Linked DNA regions of Homo sapiens: region 1 is linked to region 2. The links are contacts of gene promoters, found by promoter capture Hi-C in blood cells and fetal thymus (Javierre and others, 2016). All regions are on one chromosome and are shown on one strand. Each heading gives the region's core, a stretch centred on a gene start or on the middle of the fragment in contact. The rest is flanking DNA. Distances are from core to core; before and after follow the strand shown.

Region 1 (6,296 bases), core at 1,352-3,851, 360 kb after region 2:
AGAACATAGTCTCCAAATACAAAGGATGGTAGCTTAGAAATAAAAGTCTTTAATTATTTGTCATATTCTATACAAAGTTTGAAGTCTGCATTAAGTTATTAAGAGCCCCATTCCTGAGGCTTATTATTCAAAAGGGTGGAAATACGAAAACTTTAATTTTAAAAACTAAGAAGTAGGCCGGGTACGGTGGCTCGCGCCTGTAATCCCAACATTTTGGGAGCCGGAGGAGGATGGAGAGCCTGAGCTCAGGAGTTCAAGATCACCCTGACCAACATGGTAAAACCCTGTATCTACTAAAAACGCAAAAAATTTCCCAGGGATGGTGGCATGCACTGTAATTCCAGCTGCTTGAGAGGCTGAGACACGAGAATTGCTTGAACCCGGGAAGCGGAGGTTGCAGTAAGCCAAGATCACGCCACTGCACCCCAGCCTGGGAGACAGAGCAAGACTCCGTCTCAAAAAAAAAAAAAAAAAGAAAACTAAGAAGTAATCCTTCAGAGGAAGAAATGTGCTTAATTGAGTAGTAAGGATTAAATGAGTTGCAGTGTGCGAAGTGTTAAGCCTAGCTCCTGCCACACGATATTACTCAACAAGTTATTCAGATTTGGCCGGGCACGGTGGCTCATGCCTATAATCCCAGCAATTTGGGAGGCCAAGGCGGGTGGATCACGAAGTCAGGAGTCCAAGACCAGCCTGGGCAATATGGTGAAACCCTGTCCCTAACAAAAATACAAAAATTAGCCGGGCATGGTAGCGCGTGCCTGTGGTCCCAGCTACTTCAGGGGATGAGACAAAAGAATTGCTTGAACCCGGGAGGCGGAGGTTGCAGTGAGCCGAGTTCATGACACCGCACTCCAGCCTGGGCAACAGAGCGAGATTCCATCTCAAAAACAAAAAAAACAAAAAAAAACAGTTATTCAGACTTTCTCTATTGTCTCATTTCCCTACGTTTCCCTCTTATACCAACATAACCAAAATGAGTTTGACTGTTTTTAACACAAACATGAACAATATTTGAAATAACTGTATACATTTACGAGTAATTTTACAATCACTATCTTTTAAAACTTAAATCAGCTCAAGGAAGGGAAAAAGAAAACTGAAATTTAGAGTCCCTATAACATTATGGCTACTGTGCTAAGAACTGACATCTATCACTTCATTTAATTTGCTCAGGTAGGTTATTATTATCCTAATCTCACAGATAAGGGAAGTGAGGTTCAAAAACATTTAATAATTTGGCCAGGCTTGGTGGCTCATGCCTGTAATTCCAACATTTTGGAAGGCCGAGGTGGGCAGATCATTTGAGCCCAGGAGTTCGAGACCAGCCTAGCCAACATGATGAAACCCAGTCTCTACTAAAAATATAAAAAATTAGCAGGGCATGCTAGCGCGTGTCTGTAGTCCCAGCTACACAGGAGGCTGAGGTGGAAGGATCACTTGAACCTGGGAGGTGGAGGTTGCAGTGAGCCAAGATCCCAAGATCACAGCACTGCACTCCAGCCAGGGGGACAGAGTGAGACTTTGTCTCAAAAAATAAGTAAAATTTATATGGAAAGGCATAGGCCCTAGGAATATGTATTATAGATATCAGTAAGTACTCCAAAACACTGAGGTGTCTAAAGCTTAATTTGGTAATTACAAAGTTTCTTATATCAAGCTGTAAAATAAGCTTGATGTTTCCTTAGACCTAGTGGGCATCAGGAAAGGTGAAAACCCAATATTAAAATGATATTGCGTCTCCCTGGTGTTCCCCTAACACTGAAGGAACACATAGAATTCCCATTTGTTCCTAAATACCCTTCTGATCTTCAATGACCATGAGTAAAGATAAACAAGGAGTTGAAAGAAATGGCAAAAAAGAACCAAAGAACTATCTTGTTTTGGCACTATACAGCTCTGACTGGGGTCAACATCCAAGACAGGATGTACCATCAAAGGAAATGGATCTGCACAGAGAAATAAAAGCTCAGCCCGGGTCAGAAATGAAACAATGGCACACAAATAAGTTTTGTTTCCACAGAGAATACATTTTTCTATATAAACTTTACCATGAGGCTGGGTGCTGTGGCTCTCGCCTGTAATCCCAGCACTTTGGGAGGCCGAGGTGGGCGAATCACTTGAGGTCAGGAGTTCAAGACCAACCTGGCCAACATGGTGAAACCCTGTCTTTACTTAAAATACAAAAATTGCCGGGCATGGTGGCTCCTGCCTGTAATCCCAGCACTTTGGGAGGCAGAGGTGGGCGGCTCATGAAGTCAGGAGATCGAGACCATGCTGGCCAACATGGTGAAACCCCATCTCTACTAAAAATACAAAAATTAGCTGGGCATGGTGGCAGGCACCTATAATCCCAGCTACTCAGGAGGCTGAGGAAGGAGAAGCGCTTGAGCCTGGGAAGCGGAGGTTGCAGTGAGCCAAGATCATGCCACTGCACTCCAGCCTGGCTACAGAGCGAGATTCCGTCACAAAAAAAAAAAAAAAAAATTAGCTGGGTGTGGTGGCGTGCGCCTGTAATCCCAGCTACTCAGGAGGCTGAGGCAGGAGAACTGCTTAAACCTGGGAGGCGGAGGTTGCAGTGAGCCAAAATCACGCCACTGCACTCCAGCCTTGGTGATAGAGCAAGACTCTGTCTCCAAAAAAAAAAAAAAAAAATTAGCCAAGTGTGGTGGCACATGCCCGTAATCCCAGCTACTTGGGAGGCTGAGGCATGAGAATCACTTGAACCTGGGAGGCGGAGGCTGCAGTGAGCTGAGATCACACCACTGCACTCCAGCCTGGGTGACAGAACAAGGCTCTGCCTCAAATTAAAAAAATAAAAATAAAAAAACTTTACTGTGAAACTACATTATCTACAAGATGTTTCTTCAGAAATTTCTTCTCAGGAGAAACTTAGAAATTTTTCTTCCAAGACTTAATAATTGTCACTGACTTCCTGCCAGCTTTATATCAGAAACTTTTGGCCAGGCACAGCGGCTCACACCTGTACTGTAATCCCAGCATTTTGGGAGGCCAAGGTGGGCGGATCACTCGAGGTCAGGAGTTTGAGACCAGCCTGGCCAACATGGTGAAACCCCAACTCTACTAAAATTACAAAAATTAGCCGGACATGGTGGCACACACACCTGTAGTCCCAGCTATCTGGGAGGCTGAAGTGGGAGAATCGCTTGAACCCAGGAGGCAGAGGTTGCAGTGAGCCGAGTTCGCACCACTGCACTGCAGCCTGGACCACTGAGCAAGAACTGACATCTATCACTTTTCTGAGACAGTTCTGTCTCAGGAAAAAGAAAAAAAAAAGAAAGAAACTTTTCAAACATCCTAGAAAAAATGAACCTACACACAGGTCACAATAAAACAAAAATGTATTTTGCAAGAATACAATATAGCCTTACCTCAGCTTCTGTTTTCATTTAAAAACTCAAATGCTATTTGAAAAAAATGTGCTTTGTAGAACATGTTTCTTGCTTTCAACATGGCACGGGAAGGTAATGCTACCACACAGTGCCAAAACACTAAAATATGGCTTTCAGAAAAGCTTGTTAGTTTCATACCAACAATAATAGGGCTAGATTTCCTATTTGCAACAAGCTATGTAATGAATATAACAGCTTTTCCTTAAAAGTCACTTATCTATAGAGAATATTTATACAGACAAACTGAAATAAGAAAAATTCTAGAAAAGCAACAGTGAGTTTTTTAAAAAACATTTTTGTACATTCTACCATCATACCTCCTTAATATACAAATATTCATATATGTGCCTGATATAAGCCATAAAAATAAAATAATTCACAAATTTATTATATGAAAGTATCCCTGAAACTAAAATAAGTAAAATTTGGATAAGCTTTTCTACCAATATACTCTCTGGGAGAAAAAGACAGAAAAGTGAGCCTTAAAGTGAATTCCATTTTTCTACTACTTCTCATTAAATATTAAAAATGTGTCCATATTTTTTAATATTGATAAACTAAATTAAAAACCTTAGTGAAGTACAAGGTATGGTAGCTCCTATCTATAAGCTCAGCTACTTGGAAGGCTAAGGTGGGAGGATGGCTTGAGTGAAGGAGTTCCAGGCCAGCCTGGGCAACATAGTGAGAACCCAGATCTAGAAAAAATAAATAAATAAAAAATAGGCTGGGCGCAGTAGCTCACACCTGTAATCCCAGCACTTTGGGAGGCCAAGGCAGGTGCATCCCTTGACATCAGGAGTTCGAGACCAGCCTGGTCGACATGGTGAAACCCCGTCTCTACTAAAAAAAAAAAAAAAAAAATTAGTTGGGCATGGTGGCAGGCACCTATAATCCCAGCTACTCAGGAGGCTGAGGCAGGAGAATCGCTTGAACCTGGGAGGCGGAGGTTGCAGTGAGTAGAGATCACGCCACTGCACTCCGTCTGGGCAACAGAGCGGGACTCCATCTCAAAAAAATAGTAATAAAAATGAAATAAAATAGGCCAGGTGCAGTGGCTCACACCTGTAAATCCCAGCAATTTGGGAGACGAGGCAGGCAGATCACTTGACCTCATGAGTTCCAGACCAGGCTGCACAACACAGTGACAACTCATCTCTACGAAAAATACAAAAAAACTAGCCAGGCACGGTGGTATGCCCCTATAGTCCCAGCTACTCGGGAGGCTGAGGCAGGAGGATCACCTGAGCCCAGGGAGGTTGAAGCTGCAGTGAGTTGAGATCCCGCCACTGCACTCCCACCTGGGAAAGAGTTCGACCCTGTCTCAAAAATAAAATAAAATAGATAGACAGAAAACCTAATTTATCCTATATGTATAATTAAATATCAGATAGTTATTATTTACATATACTATTGAGGATTTTTAATCTGATCAATTTTATTGAGCTAGCTTCTCCCCAATTTTAAATGCAACCCCTCTAACTCAGATGGCACATAACTGTAAAAAACATTAAATGAATACCAGAATTTTATAGTCAAATCACATTTGTACCCAAAAGTAGGCTTTTTCCCCCTTGTTTTAATTCATAAATTTATTCAACAGACTTGATTTTACAAATTCCAGCCATCCTAGAATTTTCCTCATGTCAAGATATTACAAGCATTATAACAGCCTATTCTAGTGTTTTACTCACTGATGGTCAAGAGATTTCCCCTAAAAGTAAACAGCAAACTAGAAAAAACATTGCCAGCTATATGATAAAGAATATACTTGATGGCCGGGTGAGGTGGCTCATGGCTGTAATCCCAGCACTTAGGGAGGCCAAGGCTGGCACATCACCTGAGATCAGGAGATCAAGACTAGCCTGGCCAACATAGCAAAACCCAGTCTCTACTAAAAATGCAAAAATAAGCTGAGCGTGGTGGTGCATGCCTGTACCCCACTTACTCAGGAAGCTGACGCAGGAAAATCCTTGAACCCACGAGGTGGAGGTTGCAATGAGCAGAGATCTTGCCAAAGCACTCCAGCCTGGGAGACAGAGTGAGACATTGTCTCAAAAAAAAAAAAAAAAAAAAAAAAGAATATATTTGGCTGGGCGTGGTGGCACACACCTGTTATCTCAGCACTTTGGGAGACCAAGATAGCAGAATCACTTGAGCTCAAGAGTTTGAGACCAGCCTTGGCAACATGGTGAGGCCCCGTCTCTCCAAGAAACACAAAAAATTAGCCAAGCATGGTGGTGCGTGCCTCTGGTCCCAGCTACTCAGGAGGCTGAGGTGGGAGGATTGCTTAAGCCCAGGAGGTCAAGGCTGTAGTGAGTGGTGACCGTGCTACTGCATTCCAGCCTCTTTTTTTTTTTTTTTTTTTGGAGATGGAGTCTCACTCTGTTACGTAGGCTGGGGTACAGTGGCGTGATCTTGGCTCACTGCAACCTCCACCTCCCGGGTTCAAGCAATCCTGCCTCAGCATCCGGAGTAGCTGGGACTACAGGTGCATGCCACCATGCCCAGCTAATTTTTGTATTTTTAGTCAAGATGGGGTTTCACCATGTTGGCCAGGCTGGTCTCGAACTCCGGACCTCAGGTGATCCACCTGCCTCGGCCTCCCCCTCCCAAAGTGCTGGGGTTACAGGCGTGAGCCACCGCACCCGGCCTACCACCATTTTTTTTTTTGAGACCCTGTCACCCCCACCAAAAAAAAGAATATTTTTACTATAAAGAGATTCAAAACGTCAAAATAAGAAAAAAATTGCATATGCCAAAACAGAGATAGGCAAAGACGTGAACAGTTAGAAATATGACTATCTTGAAAACCCAAAAGGGCTGGGCGTGGTGGCTCACACCAAAACTTTGGGAGGCTGAGGCAGGCCGACCACCTGAGGCCAG
Region 2 (6,580 bases), core at 1,033-3,532:
GCAACAGAACAAGACTCCGTCTCAAAAAAAAAAAAAAAAAGAGAATATGCATTAGGCAAGACAATATAAACCTCCAATTACAAAAATCAATTAAGAAAGGTTAACTGTTCTTGCACTTGTGGGATGAACATGAAGATCTGAATGGGCCATGAATAGTCTGGCTGGGGGTTTTGAAGCAGGAAGTCTTGGAAGCCAGTAAATTGTAAAGTTGTCCAAGAGACCCAGAGCCCAACTCAAAAGTCCAATCCTCCCATAGCCACTGTCTATCCCAAGACAAAGTCGAAAAAAGCTAATTAGTACCCACACCCAGCTCTAAGTCACACAAGAACAAATCTCTCCCTGGGCCCTGTGCAGGCCAGGCCAGAAGAGCAAGGGCAACTCAGGATACTCCATTTATTGAACTCCAAATCTAACAAAATTAAGATCGCTGCAGTGTTTCAAAAGGACCTTGACCTTGTTCCCACTGCTATGCTCACTAAAGTCAGCTCATTTATGTTTCTGTAGCCTCTGTATCTGTAGCTTCTGCATCTGTTTTCTGAGAAGCTAACAGGACTTCACGTGCCCGTTTCCTTCGCAGTCTCTCAGCATTTGTGATCATCATAGGATGCAGAGGGAAAAAGCCAGCAAGACCTAAAAGTAACAGATTTTTCACTTATTATAACACAGTATAAGCCAATGCTTCCCTAGGAACTCTGTCTCACAGAACTGAGGTCTGAGATCTGACCCAGTGCATGGATGCAAACCATGCTCCTCACTTGCCAAACTCTGTACTACTTCTCCCCGGCAAGGAGACAGTGGATGTCTACTTCCCTAACAATATTCCCCTTACTTTAAAAAACGTAAACTGACAGATGGCCATTCAAAACATACTATTCCTATTTTTAGCATAAAATACCAGTCACCCAAAGTCTTACAAAGGAGTCCACAAAAGGGGCCTCCAGATTCAAAATGCCAATTAGATCACAACTTCAGCTCCCACTTCAGTCCTGAACAGCCTAGAGGGAATGAAATAACTCTTTTTTTTTTTTCTTTGAGATGGAATCGCCCTCTGTTGCCCAGACTGGAGTGCAGTGACGCGATCTTGGCTCACTGCAACCTCCGCCTCCTGGGTTCAAGCGATTCTCCTGCCTCAGCCTCCCCAGTAGCTGAGACTACAGGTGCGTGTCACCACGCCCAACTAATTTTTTTTTTTTATTTTTAGTAGAGACAGCGTTTCACCATGTTGGCCACTCTGGTCTCAAACTCTTGACCTCAGGTGATCCGCCCGCCTCGGCCTCCCAAAGCGCTGAGATTACAGGCGTGAGCCACCGTGCCCAGCCGAAAATCATTCTTACACCTACTGTCCTGGAGCTGACTTCAGTTTAAAATCCCCTCAATAAGGTAAGACCAGAGCTGAGTTACCCAGAAGCTTTTCCATAGGCTTAGAGAGGTGGGCCCCGCAGCCAATCCAATGACGGATCCTGTCTAGGTTGAGGGCAACGAGTTTTTCTCCATGACTGTTGGGCAATGGATCATAGGAGCCCAGCTGCTCTACGAAACGGCCATCCCTGGGACACTTGTTGTGAGCAGCCACAATGCGGTAGAACGGCCGATTGGTGCAGCCACCCAGGGCAAGGCGGATGGTTAAGTGGCCCCCACGGTAGGCCTTGCAGAGGAGAGTAGCTGTAGAAAAGCAGCTGGTTAGGACACAAAAAACAGCACAAAAAGGACAAAATGACACAGACGGCACAATTCCCTTTTCCCACTGAAATGTCTCACTTCCAATCCATTCCTGTCAATCCAGTTTAGATGCTACTCTTCTTTGTGAAACCCCTCTTGGCCAGTCCAGCCAGCAATGACCTCCTCCTCATACCCAAACCCACCCCGCATGGGCTTGCCATTCACTAGGCTCTGTGACCTTGTCGGAGCCTTAGCTGCTTCAATGGGGTGGAAATTTTTCAGCGGTGATTAAGTGGGGAAAAAACTGAGAGAAGGATCAAATGTAAGGCAGTGTGGCTGCTTCAGGTTCGGGTTGCCTCCATCGCGCCTGGGAGAGCTCTCCCCACCCGGCCCCGAACTCCCGAGCCCCGTGACCGCCCGGAACGTCTCGCGGTGGCCCGATGACTCACTGAGGTGGACCATGGTGCCGCCGGCGTGCGGCTCCTCGGAGAGCCCCGCTACCCGCACGCACCAGCTCTACGGCCTTGGCAGGGCAGAGAACAAACACAGAAAGAACCTGCAAGCCGACACCAGGCCGCACCGCCAAGCGGTACAAGCCCGAAAACCTCGACTCCGGAAGCGGATGATCCGCTCGCCACGCCTCCTCCGCTTGCCGCCCTATACTTCCCACAATGCAACACGGTGACCCCTAACGTACCTTAAACTGCTGCAAAAGAGGCGTTTCTCGTGGTGTCTTGTGGGAGTGGCGGTGCGATCCCTCTCAGACTTGTGAGTCCCTGCTGGAGTCAGAAGTTTTAGGCGAATCCCAGGCGCGCCAAGGAAAGTGCTACAAAAGCCATCCATCTTGCAAGCGTTGGTGCCGAGGCGCAACGCTGAGAACGCAAATACTAAAGGGCGCTGTTCTTTCCTCGTGGAGCTCACAGTCCGCTGGGGAGACCGTGAGATGACAGCAGAGAAACTAGCGCGATCAGTAGTACTCAGCGCAAGGACAGCGAGCAGAGAAGGCAAACCTAGTGCTTGCTAAGGAAGACTTCACAGAGGAGGTAGTGTCAGGGCCGAGACTAGGAGAAGGATTGTAAGTGACTAGATTTTACTTTATCCTTCTCGTTAACCAAAATTAATTTACCTCTCACCTTTTCTCCTGTTGTCGTCCCACCCCTATCGAGGCAGTCACACCTTAAAAAAAAAAGGAGGGGTTATTCCTGCTTTTGCCGTGCTGTGATCCAGGGCAGAGGTGAAGTATGATTTTTTTTTTTTTTATCTGTAGCCCTAGAATATGACCTCGGTGATGAGGGTAACGGTGTCTCCTTGGAGCCCTAGTGGTTTAGATCCATGAAGATGCCTGTGTTTGGTGAGAAGGTGTCAATAGCTCCACCTTCAGCAAAGACCTCTCTGTTCAGCTTTTTCGTTTACTGTTAGTTCCAAAGGGCTAGCATGCTCTTTGCCCTAATACAGTGACCCAGCATAGCAGTCTTCCTCCAGGGCCACCTTTGAAAATGATGCCTTAATTCCTGTATTTCAGTTAACTGAACCTGTCCAGAAACCTTAGCACCTGACTTCCTCCAGGAGTGATCCAATAAGCTTTCATCAGAAACCCTAATAATGACCCCACTATACCTTAATTTTATTGTATGTATATATATGCCATATAATTATTATAGCAATTACACTATAGTTATTTATATAACTAAATACCTACATGTAACTCAGTATACGTTAACTCCAGAACCATGCTGATGAATTTTGAGTTTCATATCTCCATTTTTTTATTGTGACCCAGTTTCTCGTCAACCAGTAAAACATCCAGTAACACAGCCAATGGAAATAAATGAATGGGTCTCTGTTTATAGTGAAGATTCTTTCGTTCTCCAGCTCCAGGCTTCATACGGTAAAACTCTCTGGGAAGGAAAGGAACTCAGAGTCCCATGCAGAAAATTGTTCAGCTGGAGGGGTATCAGAAAGATGGATTTCCAAAGCCAACTGTTTCCTGTAGTGTGTGGATCTCTGCAAGCAGAGCCTCATCTTTCAATTTCAGCTACATGAAAGAGGAAGAAAGGGAAAGATATATGTCATACGTGATATACTTTATGTGGCTTTGAAGACCCCTCTTTTGTGGGGCTACGGCTAAAGAACATAGTTCCCTGGGATGGAATTGGCTCTTCCTATTTCCCTACTTCATGAAAACTCCAGTAGAAGACCTTAGAACCTTGTCCTGGTTACATGGATATGTTTACTTTGTGAAAATTCATCAAGCACTATGCACGGTCATGATTTGTACATTTTTTTGTAAGATAACTTCATTAAAATTTACTTTTTTTATTTTTAAAAAGTGTTCACATTATTACCAGCATCTCTTGGCTAATGCATAGTATTCCCATCTGGCAAGTGATATCAGGGAATCAGAGACAGAAATCATAGGCTTATATTAGATCTGGTTTTAGTTTTAGAATCTAGATATGTAGTAGAGACATCTAGGAGCCTACAGAATACCTATTTTTTCTTACTAACAAAATCTTAATTTCTTTTCAAGGCAGTAATGCAGTCAGCTAAAAAGCCACATTTTCCTGCTTCCCATGCAGCTAGAGGTAGTCATGACCAATTGCCACCCAATGAAATGTAAACTAAAGTCATTGGGTAGGACACCTGGAGAAGCCCTTTATTTAGGGAAAGTCCTTTAAAGGGAACTGAAGTAGCATGGCCCCTTTTTCCTTTTCCCCTTATTGTTCTTTATCTTGCCTGAAACATGAATATGATAGTAAGCTACGCTGGCTGTCTTGCAACTATGAGGGATAGAAACTGCAGGCTACAATTGGTGGAGCACAAAGATAGATTTTGGGTCCCTGATGACATTGTGGAGCTGCGGTACGAGCCCTGGACTTTTCATTAGATGAGAAAAAACTAATTTGTTTAAACCACTGTCTTTCAAGTCAAGTTACTTGCAATTCATAACTAATAGAACAGGCCAGGCATGTTGGCCCCCACCTGTAATTCCAACAGTTTGGGAGGCTGAAGTGGGCGGATCACTTGAGACCAGGAGTTTGAGACCAGCCTGGCCAACATAGCAAAACCCTGTCTCTATGAAAAATACAAAAATTTGGCCAGGCGTGGTGGCTCACGCTTATAATCCCAGTACTTTGGGAGGCCGAGGCGGGGGGATCACAAGGTCAGGAGATCAAGACCATCCTGGCTAACACGGTGATACCCTATCTACTAAAAATACAAAAAATTAGCTGGGGGCAGTGGCGGGCGGCTGTAGTCCCAGCTACTCAGGAGGCTGAAGCGGAGAATGGCCTGAACCCGGGAGGCGGAGCTTGCAGTGAGTGGAGATTGCGCCACTGCACTCCAGCCTGGGAGACAGAGCAAGACTCCATCTCAAAAAAAAAATTCAGCTGGGCATGGTAGCACATACCTGTAATCCCAGCTACTTGGGAGGCTGAGGCACAAGAATCACTTGAACCGGGAGGTGGAGGTTGCAGTGAGCTGAGATCGTGCTACTGCACTCCAGCCTGGGCAACAGTGCAAGACTCTGTCTCAAAATATATATGTATATGTAACTGATAGAACAGACCAGGGGTTGTTCATGAGCCAATCCAGCTCACTACCTGTTTTTGTTTGTTTGTTTGTTTTTGAGACGGAGCCTCAGCCTCCAGAGTAGCTGGGACCACAGGTGCCCACCAAGACGCTCGGCTAATTTTTTTGTATTTTTAGTAGAGACGGGGTTTCACCATGTTAGCCAGGATGGTCTCCATCTCTTGACCTTGTGATCTACCCACCTCAGCCTCCCAAAGTGCTGGGATTACAGGCGTGAGCCACCATGCCTGGCCACTACCTGTTTTTTTGTAAGTAAAATTGTATTGGAACACAGCCATTCACTTATGTATCACCTATAGCTGCTTGTGTACTACAAGTGCAGAGTTTAGTAGTTGCAACAGACTGTTTGGCCTACAAATCCCCCAAAATTTCCTATTTTGCCCTTTACAGAAAATGTTTGCTGATCCCTAGACTAGACCAACCCCTACATATTACACGAGGAAAATGAAGCCCACAATATTATTAACACAGTAAGTTAATGGCAAAACCAGAATCATAATTCAGGTTGACTGACTCCCAGGCTATCTTTCTATTAACTATTATATATTCTCTCTAAAGAGCTGGAAGAAAGATCACCTATGGTAATATGTAGGTTGTTATTACAAACCCAGCAGCCCCACGATAATGGCAAAGATGGTAAGAAAAGCCTCTAGAAAAATATTCACATTATGAAAGTCCTGAATTAAGCCAGTACCTCCCTCCTAATTTCCCACCCTTAACATGGGGCAGGCAAATGACAGAGGCATCTGTGTCATACCTTGATCATGTACTTGTAGGCCTGCTCAGCTTCTAATTGCCGTCCAACCTGAAAAAAGTGCAGCAGTTGGTGATGATGACAGGTCATAAACATTATGGTAAGGAAAATACATTGCCTCAGCTAAGGCAGAGGCACCTACACCTAAGGCAGAGGCTTCTACACCTTCCAGTTAAGAACTTCTGAATTGAGAGGAAAAACTAGCAAATGAAAGGTGGTAGGGAGAAAAAGGTTTTTTTTTTAAAAAATTCCTCCTGGCCAGGCGTGGTGGCTCATGCCCATAATCCCAGCACTTTGGGAGACCGAGGTGGGTGGATCACAAGGTCAGGAGATCGAGATCATCCTGGCTAACACGGTGAAACCCCGTCTCTAATAAAAATACACAAAATTAGCCGGGTGTGGTGGCATGCGCCTGTAGTCCCAGCTACTAGGGGAGCTGAGGCAGGAGAATCGCTTGAACCCAGGAGGCAGAGGTTGCAGTGAGCCGACATCATGCCACTGCACTCCATCCTGGGCAACAGAGTGAGACTCCATCTCAAAAAAAAAAAAAAAAAAAAAAAGGAAAAAAAATTCCTC

What was found. Contacts are between HindIII fragments. The CHiCAGO score rates a contact against its expected background, and 5 or more counts as called.
Region 1: a contact is called between a fragment that was not itself captured here and the fragment with the promoter of MRPS16 in region 2, in 3 of 17 cell types (erythroblasts, megakaryocytes and endothelial precursors). The highest score is 6.3, in erythroblasts.

What each region holds. Positions count from the first base shown.
Region 1 is chr10:73,607,374-73,613,669 of GRCh38, forward strand. It overlaps a transcript of USP54 not described here. Among named protein-coding and RNA genes, the nearest start is that of USP54, 19 kb to the left of the region's middle. The HindIII fragment of the contact is 1,863 bases long and covers 1,671-3,533 here.
Region 2 is chr10:73,250,362-73,256,941 of GRCh38, forward strand. It overlaps MRPS16 (mitochondrial ribosomal protein S16), which reads right to left and starts at 2,283. Exons shown (of 3, transcript NM_016065.4): 1 at 2,109-2,283; 2 at 1,402-1,662; 3 at 1-630. The coding sequence starts at 2,121. The coding sequence ends at 491. CFAP70 (cilia and flagella associated protein 70) reads right to left here. Exons shown (of 28, transcript NM_001367801.1): 27 at 6,008-6,055; 28 at 3,401-3,694. The coding sequence ends at 3,614. The region is part of intron 2 of DNAJC9-AS1 (DNAJC9 and MRPS16 antisense RNA 1); the gene reads left to right. RefSeq lists enhancers at 2,002-2,569, 2,009-2,298, 2,419-2,678 and a silencer at 5,365-5,540. The HindIII fragment of the contact is 1,832 bases long and covers 1,407-3,238 here.